Regions from separate parts of the Homo sapiens genome. Here region 2 is linked to region 1. The links are contacts of gene promoters, found by promoter capture Hi-C in human tissues and cell types (Jung and others, 2019). All regions are on one chromosome and are shown on one strand. The core of a region is centred on a gene start or on the middle of the fragment in contact, and the rest is flanking DNA. Distances in the headings are between cores, read along the strand shown. Region 1 holds the start of TIMP2 (TIMP metallopeptidase inhibitor 2). Region 2 overlaps DNAH17 (dynein axonemal heavy chain 17).

What was found. Contacts are between HindIII fragments. The study calls those that stand out against the background at their distance.
Region 2: a fragment that was not itself captured here is called in contact with the fragment with the promoter of TIMP2 in region 1 in 1 of the 25 tissues and cell types used here (lymphoblastoid cells).

The regions. Positions count from the first base shown.
Region 1 is chr17:78,921,795-78,927,570 of GRCh38, forward strand. It overlaps TIMP2 (TIMP metallopeptidase inhibitor 2), which reads right to left and starts at 3,593. Exons shown (of 5, transcript NM_003255.5): 1 at 3,165-3,593. The coding sequence starts at 3,294. RefSeq lists an enhancer at 1,753-1,822. The HindIII fragment of the contact is 25,377 bases long and covers 1-5,776 here.
Region 2 is chr17:78,557,447-78,563,222 of GRCh38, forward strand. It overlaps DNAH17 (dynein axonemal heavy chain 17), which reads right to left. Exons shown (of 81, transcript NM_173628.4): 12 at 4,269-4,534; 13 at 3,294-3,489; 14 at 662-808. Among named protein-coding and RNA genes, the nearest start is that of DNAH17, 17 kb to the right of the region's middle. RefSeq lists an enhancer at 481-1,680. The HindIII fragment of the contact is 7,931 bases long and covers 1-5,776 here.

The DNA.
Region 1 (5,776 bases), core at 2,343-4,842:
TCATGAATTATCTTTGCCGACCACAGTTCCGGTCCTACCAACTGCAAGAGCTGCTAGGGAGATACCTCCCAGAAATCCTCAGCCGGGCAGACAGAAATCTGACTGTTTCTTAAGCCAATTGCCTCTTGTAGACACCAAGCCATTTAACAAGGCTGCATGCAGCCAAGAGTAAAAGGAGCCAGCTTGCCACATAACAAGCCAGCCTTTATTAACCTCCACTGTACCCCCTTTCTGAGACCCCTGGGTCACAGCCCTGGTTAAATCACCTGTGGGCCTTTTAAAACTGCAAAAGCCGAAGTCTGAGCAAGACCCTCTGTATCTGCAAAGGGACCTAGACCTGAGCAATCTTTAAGAATCTTCCAGGCAATTCTGCTCTGAGCCAGAATGGGGAACCATTGCTGAGAAAGTCACAAACCTGCATCGCTTCGAGGAGAATCGAACACTGGAGAATAGACAGGCCGCTGTCGTCCCTGTGGGATTTGTTCCGGGACCCTACCCTGGGATGTCCTGGGTTGTTTATCCCAAGTTGGTTGAGCACGGAAAGGGTGACTGGGAATAAGAGAAGGCAGCCTGGTGTATGGGCTGAATTACGTCCCCCCTCAAATGCACATCTAGTCAGATCCTATGAATATGACCTTATTTGGAAATAGAGTATTTGTTGATCTATCAAGATGAAGTCATACTGGATTAGGGTGGGCCCTAAATCCAATGGCTGCTGTCCTTAGAAGAACAGGGCAATTTGGCCGGGCGCGGTGGCTCACGCCTATAATCCCAGCACTTTGGGAGGCTGAGGCAGGCGGATCACCTGAGGCCAGGAGTTCGAGACCAGCCTGGCCAACATGGCGAATTCCTGTCTCTACTAAAAATACAAAAAATTAGCCGGGTGTGGTGGCAGGTGCCTGTAACCCCAGCTACTTGGGAGGCTGAGGCAGGAGAATTGCTCGAACCCAGGAGGCGGAGGCTGCAGCGAGCCGAGATTGCGCCATTGCACTCCAGCCTGCTCTCCAAAAAAAAAGAACAGGGAAATTTGGACACAGAGACACACGAGAGAAGGCCATGTGAAGACAGGCGGAAATGGAAGTGATGTGTTCCTTGAAAATGGAACCAAGCAACATCAAGGAGAGAGGCCTGGAAGAGATTCTCCCTCACAGCCCCCAGAAGGAACTGGCTCTGTGGACACCTTTTCAGACTTCTGGCCTCCTGAGCTACAGAGAATCGATTCCTGTTCTTTTAAGCCCTCCCATTTGTGGTAGTTTGTCACAGCGGCCACAGGAAGCGAATGCCCTGAGCTCTGCAGTGCAACTCTGGCATCTGACTGGGCCTCTGAGCCGGGATGGGGTGAAAAGTTTTAGCTACAGGATGATTTTGATGCAAAGATTTAGACACAAATGCCAGGCAACCCAGAAGAGGAGAGTGCTGCGCTGAGCATGAAGGAGGCGGGAGGCACGCACTGCAGCCCTCCACCCTCTGCCATCCTGGATCCACACCCCACGCAGAAACAGCTCCCAGCTCAGTGGCCGCCTTAACTTATGCCAAGCAAGGACAGAGTGGCTGCCTGGACATTCTCCCACACAGCTGAGGAGTGTGTGTGTGGGGCGGGGTGGGGGGGGGGGCGGGAGGGGGAGGGGTCCCAAGGCCCAACTCCTACAAATCCAACTCCCAGGTCCTTTTATCCACAGCCTCCTTCTGGGCCTTGGCTACATCCTGCCCCAGCACGTGCTGGTGAGCCAAGGAGCCTGGACAGGCCTGCACTCCTCGTGGACCCCCAGAGAAAGGCCCATTATGGCTCCCTCATCAAAGGAACCTCTCCTTCACCCACAAATCTTGCTGAGCACCAAGGCTAAACTGGAGAAAAGACCTCATTTCCCCCAAACTGGGTTTTGTGGAAACTGACACAGGCACACACCAAGCCTTCCGCCCAGGTGGCCTGAGCCACCTGAGACCTGTGATCTCAATAGATTGGTGCAACTGAAAACTTCCCCAGCTGGGCACGCAGCTCCTAGGGCTAACCGGGGTGGGGCAAGAAGCCGTGGGCGGGGTATGGGAAGGGCGTGGCTGACAGCAGGAGAAACAGAAAGTCCCACCTCCACTCTGGGCAGGTGAGGGGGCCCCCGCCTTGCTCCATCTGCCCTGGACAGGTCACTCGACTGAGACTCAGACATAAGAAGGAAGGAGGGCAGGGGGCTCCGAGACCACCTGCCGTGTAGCCAGACTTGCCCCAGGAAAACCATGCTGACCAGCACCAGGGCTGCAGAGGCTTGAGGTGCAGGACCAGGGTGGAAACTTCGAGCCAGCGGGTTCCTCCCATTTCTGCTGGTCCTCCCCCTCCATGGATCAGAACAAATAACTGGGCCCCTCCTGCCTCCCTCCATGGCGCCTGTCTTTTGGGGGCTAGGAGTCCGGAGGTCATGGGTATTTGCTGGGGAATCTGAGCAGCAGCACAGTCCCACGTGCCGGGTCCGGTCACCAAAGTCTCCAGCTTTTGTGGACGTCCCGAAAAAGCGGAACATTCGGGGGTCCCGGTCCCTGCCCAGCCAGTTTGCAGGGCCTCCTGGGCAGGGCGCAAGCAAGGAGCCACGCCAGGAGACGCCACCGGCTTTTTCACCTGCCCCTCTGGGCCTGTGGAACCTGCCTCGGGTAGGGCGGGCTTCCATCCCACCCTGGCTTGATCGGGGAGCCCCCAAATGGGGCTGGTGGGAGAAGCCCCAGCAGAGAAGCCCTTCCCCACCCAGCCCCAAGCCCAGAGAAGCCCAACTCCCACCTTATCTGCGAAAGTTTCTTCCTGGGGTCCCCAGTCCTCCAGCCCCCCGCCCCCACGCCGTGTCCCCCACGCTCCCCGCCCCCAGCGCTGGCATCCCAGGGCGCGCCGCCTGCCAAAAGCCAAACTGGCTCCCTTTCCTGGGGCTGGAGCTGCGGCGGAATTTCGGTGGAATTTTGAGGTTGAGACGCATCTCGGCAAAGAGAGGGAAAGAAAGGGAGAGGAGGGAGGGGGGAAAGAAAGTCGGCTCTGGGCGTCCACTTGCAGGATTCGAGAAGGCGCCGAGGGACCAGGAGGCGGGCGCTGGGGTCCCTCGGCCAGCGGCGGGCGGGCGGGGCGTCTGCGAACCCTCGGGGTCGCGGGGGAGGTGGGGCCCCGCGCGGGGGCTGGGGTCGCCGCTCCTTACCTACATCTGCATTGCAAAACGCCTGTTGCGGGTGCACCGGGGAGCAGCTGCAGGCGTCGGCCGGGCGAAGCAGCGTCGCCAGCAGCAGGAGGCCGAGCGCCAGCCGCAGGGTGCGGGCCGCGGCGCCCATGGCGGGCCGGGGGGCTGGGCGGGCGGGGGCCGCCGCTGGGGGGTCCGGGCGCTGCTCGCGGCGGCGGGCTGGGGGCGCGGGCGGGGGCTGAGCCGGGGCCGAGGCGGGCCCCTCCCGCGCGGCTCACCCTCCTCACCTGCCCCGCTCGGCCGCGCAAACTTTCTCTCCTCTTTGTCTCGGGGGCGCGAGGGGAGGGGCGCGGGGCGCAATTCGCCGGGCGGGGCGGCGGGGTGGGGGGCGGCGGGCGAGCGGCGCTGCGGTTCTCGGCGGCCGCGCTGCCTTCTACGGATGTGTTTGCTGCGGGCTTGGGCCGGGCCGCAGTTTTATTGCGCTCGGAGGATTTTCTGCTCCTCCTCCCGGTGGCTGGCGGCCAATGCAGGCTCTGGGCGCTCCCAGCAGCCCCCTCCTCCCCCTCCGCCCGCGCCTCCCCCCAGCCCGCGCTTTTGTTGTGCCCGGCCTGGCACGTCGGGGGCTTCCCGCACCACCTGGCGCCCGCGACCCGCACCCGCGCGGGGGTCCCCGGACGCCCCCAGCCCCCCGACCCCGGTCCCCGCTGCGTGGCCTTCTGCGCCCGGGGTCCCTGACTCAGCGCGGGGGACTCGCGCCCCGTTCTTCCAGGACACCAGGCGACCCACCCGCTACCCTTTCCCCTTCAGCTCGACTCTGGAGGGCTACGCTGCTCCGTCCCCCGCCACCCCGGGGTCCCTTCGAGCCCAGCCTCGGGGCGAGCCAAGGGGTGTCCTTTGGAGCAGGGGCCGTTCCCTGTCGCCACCTCCCCGTTTCTGTGGGCGGGTGGCCTATTGAGAAACTGACAGGATCCCTTTTTCAAATGGAGGCCTTAGAATTTTAAGTGCGCCTGGCCAGTTTAGTTGGGGGGTGGGGGGTGTGGTTACTGTGAACAAAACAGGATTTTATATAAACTGGCCATATTTTTGACCAGCCAACAAGAGACGGGGGTGGGCCCAGGCGCCCAGGAGCCAGTAGGATCGCAGCAGAGGCATTGGCTGGGTTCCGCTCACAGTTTCCTCTCTTAGTCCACAAATGTGGGAGCCGAAGGACTTTTCCCAAAACAGTTTTGTGTTCCAGGAAAGACCCAGGCATATGAAGGGATGAACATGTGTAGGGTGGTGAGGCGGGCTTCCTGGCTGTGAACCTGCCTGTGCCCGGCTGTGGGCACCCACCCTGTACATTTGGTGTGTGCCCCGTGGGGCTCCATGGACACTGCTGCACTCAGGTCAGCACTCCAGCCCTCAGGTCAGCATTCCAGAGTGTTTGCAGTCCAGCTAGGGAGAGGGAAGCCCAGGAAAATGACACAGGAAGAATCAGGGCGGGCACGGTGGCTTGCGCCTGTAATCCCAGCACTTTGGGAGGCCGAGACAGGAGGATCACTTGAGGCCAGGAGTTTGAGACCAGCCTGGCTAGCATTTAGTAGAGACAGTGAAACCCCGTCTCTACTAAAAATACAAAAAATTAGCCGGGCTTGGTGGTGGGCGCCTGTAGTCCCAGCTACTCGGGAGGCTGAGGCAGGAGAATGGCATGAACCCAGGAGGCGGAGCTTGCAGTGAGCCGAGATCATGCCACTGCACTCCAGCCTGGGGGACAGAGCGAGACTCCATCTCAAAAGAAAAAAAAAAAAAAAAAAAGCCCGGGTGCAGTGGCTCATGCCTGTAATCCCAGCACTTTGGGAGGCTGAGGTGGGCGAATCACGAGGTCAGGAGTTCGAGACCAGCCTGGCGGCTAACACGGTGAAACCCCGTCTCTATTAAAAACACAAGAAATTAGCCGGGCGTGGTGGCGCGCGCCTGTAGTCCCAGCTACTCAGGAGGCTGAGGCAGGAGAATCGCTTGAACCCGAGAGGCGGAGGTTGCAGTGAGCCGAGATTGCGCCACTGCACTCCAGCCTGGGCGACAGAGAAAGACTCTTGTTTTTTTTTGTTTTTTTTTTTTTTTTTTTTAAAAAGAATTGCCCACTAAATTGTGCGGTGCTGACTTGAGGTATGAAACTTTGGAAAATAGTGAAAGAATGGAAAAACAGCTTCTTTCTGTTTGTGTATGTTTTGTAACAGACAGTTCTGAGAAAAGTTAAATAAGCAATGCCGTTATTTTTAGCACCCTGACAAATCCAAAGTCACTTTTTTGGTTTTTGTTAGCGTGAAATAGAGTTGGGTCGTTCACAAAATGATGTTTGAAGCTAACGTTTAAAAGTACAGTTAATTCAGAAAATTGTTATGTGCTGGCTGCCTTCAGCCATTTCATCGTTTTCTTTCCTTCTTTTTGGTTACAGGGGGAACAAAATGCTGTTGAACTTGTGTTTCAATTTGTCAGTTCATGATAGAAACAGGTAGCATAGGGGCTCTCGGTCTTTTAGACAAGCTCTACATATAAGTGATCAGGTACATGTTAGGGTGATAAATACCTTAGAGCAGTTGTGGTGCTGACAGCCAAGGGGGTGGGGCCAATGTGGGATGTACCTGGGAGGAAAG
Region 2 (5,776 bases), core at 1,431-3,930, 370 kb before region 1:
GTCTCTACTAAAAATACAAAAATTATTTGTATTTTTACTACCACCAGCTGGGCTTGGTGGTACACGCCTGTAGTCCCAGCTACTCAGGAGGCTGAGCCAGGAGAATCGCTTGAACTTGGGAGGCAGAGGTTACAGTGAGCCTAGATTGTGCCACTGCACTCCAGCCTGGGTGACAGAGTGAGACTGTCTCAAAAAAAAAAAAAAAAAAAAAAAAAAAGTAACGTAAGCCAAAGCCCAGTGGGAATAAGATATTCATCACCAGCTGTTCTGAGTCATCACTATCTTTGCTGCTATTTGCATGAATAATGAAGACTGGCTTGAACCATGTCTAAATATTAAAATACACACTAATTTAATTCTGTTCTGCTTGGAGATCTTACACCAGAAGTTGTTGGGTGACAACAAATGCTGGTGTAAGATCTCCAAGTGGAACAGAACAGGACGGCAGGACAGAGATCTCTGACTCCCTGGCTCAGGAATTTATCCCAAGCACATACACATAGCAGGTACTCAGTAAGTATGCAGTGAATGGAAGAATGAATTTGAGTGAATGGGAAGATTTCCCAGGAAGAGCCACATCTCTGAAACACACAAACAAACTTGACAAAAAACCAAAACAATACAAAGCTGCATCAGGAATAGTACCGACTCACCAACTCACCTCATTATACCAGCCAACGATGAGCTCCAGGTTGCCCACAAACTTCCGGAAAGTTTCGTTCTCTGAGAACAGACTCTCCGCACTGTCTGGAATCTCTTTCTGTTGCTGGAAATTCAAATACTTGACTTCTCTCAGAACTGCCACCAACTAAATGACAAACGAAGATCAAAGAACATGTCAGCAGGTCAGGTCAACAGTGCAGTGTTCAAGCAACAGAAATGAGCATCTGCCCTGGGATGTTTTGACAGCCGGGGGGGATCTCAAAGTTGGTGGGAGGCAGTATTTGTTGGCAGGACCAGGACGTTTTCACCCTGTTGGCTGATCCTGAGCCGGAAAGCACTGACATCACCCTCATGGGTGGATGACATCACCCTCATGGGTGGATGACATCACCCTCATGGGTGGATGACATCACCCTCATGGGTGGATGACATCATCATTGCATGTGTATGACATCATTGTCATCACCACGGGTGGGTGACATTATCCTTATGGGTGGATGATGTCATCATTGTAGGTGGATGATATCATCATCACCATGGGTGGCTGACATCATCCTAATTTTCTTATCTCTGTCCTCTCCTACCTACTACCCACAAGTGGTTTGGAGTAAGACTTCGGGTCTTCACTTGTTTCCTCGCTGGAATCTAACCTTCTGTTTTCTCTCTGCTTTCACCCGGTTATGACCCGAGATCAACAACAGGGACATCCCTTCCAACAGTGCTTCTGTCCACAAAGCTATTCTCAAAGTTGAGATAACCTCCATATTGCTGAATCCACTGGTCACATCACGGGCCTCATCTCATGGGATCGCCCAGCCGCTGGCACTCTTTCCTTCTGGGCACACAGTGTCCTCCTGGCTTCCAGGACACTAGACATTCCTGGTCACCATTATTAGTCTCTTTTGATAATCTCAAGATGTCCATGATGGGGAGCCACAGACCTTGTTCCTTCTCAATTTACCCTCAGTTGAATGAGGTGTGATGTCATCCAACGTTATAGCTGCCTTGACCAGCCAGCCCATTTGTCATCTCCGCTGAATGAGGTAATGAGATGTCCAGTGTTGTGGCTACAAGTACCATCTCTGTGTGGGTGGCTCCCACGTTTATGTCTCCAACCCCAGCCTCTCTCGTGACTTCCAGCCTTCTGTATCCACCCGCCTACTCAGCTCCTCTCTTTGGATGTCCAGGTGACATCTCACACCCAACAAGGCTAAAGCACAGCAGCCCATCCTCCCCTGTGGCCTCTGCCCCACCTGCCCTCTTGGCCAATGGCAATTCTACCTGTCTACTCACCTGACCCTAAAACATTGGGACTGACTCCCCTCTTCCAATCACGCTCCATTTCCAACCTACTAGGAGTCTCCATGGCACTATATTCAAGTCCAGAAGCTCACCACCACCTTCACTGCTGCCACTCTGGTTCCAGCCACCACCTCCCAGCTGTCATCTCTTGCCTGGACTGTGCCAACAGGCTCCCAACTGATTTTCCTGCTCTTTCCTCCAGCCCCAGCTCCGTTCAATCTACGCACCTCACAGCGTGGAGAAGGGTCCTTTACAACTAGAAATCTAATCGCAGCACACCTCTGTCTGACACCCTGCAGGGGCTGCCATCTTGCTCAAACCAAACTCCAAGTCCCTCTGTGGTCCATGGGGCCCTTCCTCGTCACCTCTCATCTCTTCTCCTACGACCTTCCCCTTTGCCCATTCCCCCGCCCCACTGGCCTCCTTGCTGCTCCTGGACTGCACCAGGCTCTCGGGCGCCACCTGGCCTTTTCTTTACCCGCATGCCGTGCTGCAAAGCTGTTCCCTCCATCTCTGCTCAGCGGCACTCTGACCTCCCACAAGTCTCTGCTCACATCTAAAATTGCACCTGCCCCTTCTACCGGCTCTATTGATCTTCTTAACCTGCCCTTCCTGCTCTTCCTTCCGCGGAACCTGTTGCACCTTCTACCATATCATACACTTGACTCCCTCGTGAATGCTAGCTGATCATCCTCCCCGCCCTCCTGCCTGGAGGTAGGCTCTAGGAGGGCAGGACAGACAGCTCTCTGACTGTCTGGATCACTAATTTATCCCAAGCACATACATGTAGTAGGTGCTCAGTAAGTATTTGGTGAACGAAAGAATGAATGTTAGTGAGTGGGAAGATTTCCAAGGAAGAGCCGCATCTCTGGTTTCCCTGCCTTGCCACGTGCAGATTGGGCAGCTCTGGGGCTGTGCTTGTAGGAATTCGGTTCCATCCTCTGCTCATCTGAACTTTCCGGGTTTTAGCCATAGAACCCACATCCCAGAGCCCACAAGTGTGAATTCTCCCCAGTGTGCCTGCCTTGACCAGCCAGTGCATTTATCTAGATTCGGCAAAGACTTTTTCCCCCCCCCCAGTTTCAAATTGTCATTTCTTCTTGGGATCACAGGAACGCTTTCAAGAAGATACTCATTGAAGCTATTGTCAAAGTTGCTTCTGCTTTCCCTCATGTCTTAAATATACCCTGGACACACTTAAGAAGTAAAGCTTTAGGCGAACTGTGATATAAACATCGACCTCCATAAATCCGTGCTGAGGGAACCTTGGCAGGCCCTCCCCCCGCTCCCAAGGAGCCTTTGACGCGGTCCCCACTCCTGGCACCCACCGCTTTGCTGAAGTTGACGTGGATGAGGTTGCTAGCGGCGTCCCGCAGAATCAGCGGCTGCCCCAGGTTAAAGTGGCAGTCCTGGTCCACGCCCGCCACCCACTGCTGGTAGATCTTCTCGCGGTGGCACCTCAGCAGCTCCATCATCTCGTCATACTTCTGATAGGTCAGCTTGGCCTCTGCTCCAGACATGACCCTGGAATCAGAGCGGGAAGGCGAGGCCCCACTGGATATCTCCTGTGGGGTGTCTTCGGCACGTCCCATCGTTGCTGCCCGATCTGGGGTGCCGAAGCGGCCGGCCACCCAATTACTCGAGGCTCACAGACTGAATATGCAAACAAGCAGTGGCCAGACCAAATGTTCAAATGGAACTCCGACCTGCAGTCTGCAGCCACCAGCCCAGGAGGCCAAAATAGAACCCACGCAGCAACTGGCTCCCGACCGCCAGGCCTGGATGAATGACAGCCAGCCCCTCTCCAACTTTCCTTCTCCCTTCCAACCTGGGGCCAACTAGATGAAAGCAAATACGCCCCCCAAACAACCACATAAAAGGCCCCCCTCCTAGTCAGCTGCACCGGCCTCCCCAGGCCAAGCCGGGGCTCCCCTGCAGCCGTCCCTGCGTCCACCGTGAAGCCTCCCCGGCCCCTGGCTGTCCAGGAGACTTGGCCAAGTGCACGCAACAGTGGCTCAGTCAGCTGCATACACAGCCTCTTCCTGTTCCTGCCTGGGTGGTCTTCATGTCTACCAGGCTGGTGGGCAAGGGTGGGGACCAGCCAGATTTCTCCTGAGCACTCCCACCAAGAAGGTGATCAGGGGAGGAGGGAGGACCAGAAGGGGTCTCTTCTGGGCTTTTGCTCTGGGAGGTAACAGTCTGGTCGACAGGAGGGGTGGTCCCGCTCGGGGTTGGGACAGTCCCTCTCGCTCTCCCGCACCATGGAGGCGGGGTGCCTGCCCCTGCCCAGGGCTGTGACTCACGGGTGTTCGACGTGCTTCAGGTGTTTCATGGACACCTCTAGCCTCTCCTGCAGCTCCAGGCTCCATTTGAGCTGCCCGGCCACGGGAGGCATGTTTTTGTGGATCAGGGGGATGTTCCCCTCCTCGGAGGCCGCCATCTGGGCATCGTACAAGATCTTAGCATTGTCTAGCTCAGCGTCAAACAGCTCCAGCATGACTGAATACCTGGGCGCCACCTCGGCAAGAATCAGGGGCCGCTCCATGAGGCCCCCACACATGTACAGGAGCTGAGGACAAAGGAGAAGGGGGCCTCTTCACCACAGTCTCCTCCCCTTCCCCAGCCTGTGGCTGTGGACAAAACGGGCAGGGCCAATCTTCAGGAGTGAGAGAATGTGTACCTTGCCAAAACAAAACAATCCACTGGAACCTTTGTGTGTGTCAACTGGCTCAGTGGAAGCCTCTATGCTTTTCTCATTGACTTAGGCCGAGTCCCCAAATACTTGGCTTATAATCCCACAGTACAAATAAGTCCAAGGGCTACAAGAGTTTTTTCTAAGCCTAGGAAAAATCAGAATTCTGGTAAGGAAGACTTAAACAATTAAAAAATAGGCTGAGCACCATGGCTCACACCTGTTATTCCAACACTTTGAGGGGCCGAGGCGGGAGGGTCACTTGAGCCCAGGAGTTTGAGACCAGCCTGGGCAACACAGCAAAATCCTGTTTCTACAAAAAATAAAAATAAAAAATACAAAGAATACATGAAACTAGCGGGGTCCAGTTTTTGTATTCTTTTGGGTGTGCGCTTATAGTTCCAGCTACTCAGGAGGCTGAGATGGGAGGATTACTTGAGCCCCAGAGGTCAAGGCTGCAGTGAGCCAAGATTGCACCACTGCACCCCAGCCTGGGCAACAGAGCAAGACCCTGTCTCCAGAAAAAACAAACCCAAAACAACTCCAAGTAAACAATTTTAAAATAGCCATAACGTTGCATTTATATACCTGGGCTTCTACTCTGATACAGATAAATGAAGAAATATTTTATCCACAGGAAGCGTTCCTCTTAGGAAGAGCACTGCCACTCTCAAGGGCAGCTGAGGCAAGAAAACCACCATCAGGAAATGTGTTTCGCTCTGAGAAAGCTCTGGGGGTCAGACCAAGTGGGAGGGGGACCAGAGAGAGGGAAGACAACCTCACACGAAACAGGGTCCCCCAGTGCTGGGTGTGAGTGGGAAATCCAAGAGAGTTTCCCGGGGCTGCCATAACCCACGCCCAATGGGGGCCAGACCAGCTGCGGTGAGCCTGAGTCTCAGACTTTCCCCAGACTTGGGTCTGAGAAAGGTGACCACTGTCCCTAGAAATGGCCACAGGAGGAAAAACCAAAACATGACTGCGAAGAGAGGGAGATTTTTCAGGCCCCCAAGAGTACAGATTTCCCAAATGCAAGATTGCGGCTATTTTTAAGTTAATTGTGTTTTTCAAAATTGTTCAAATCTTCCTTACCCAAATTCTGATTTCTCCTGGGCTTAGAAA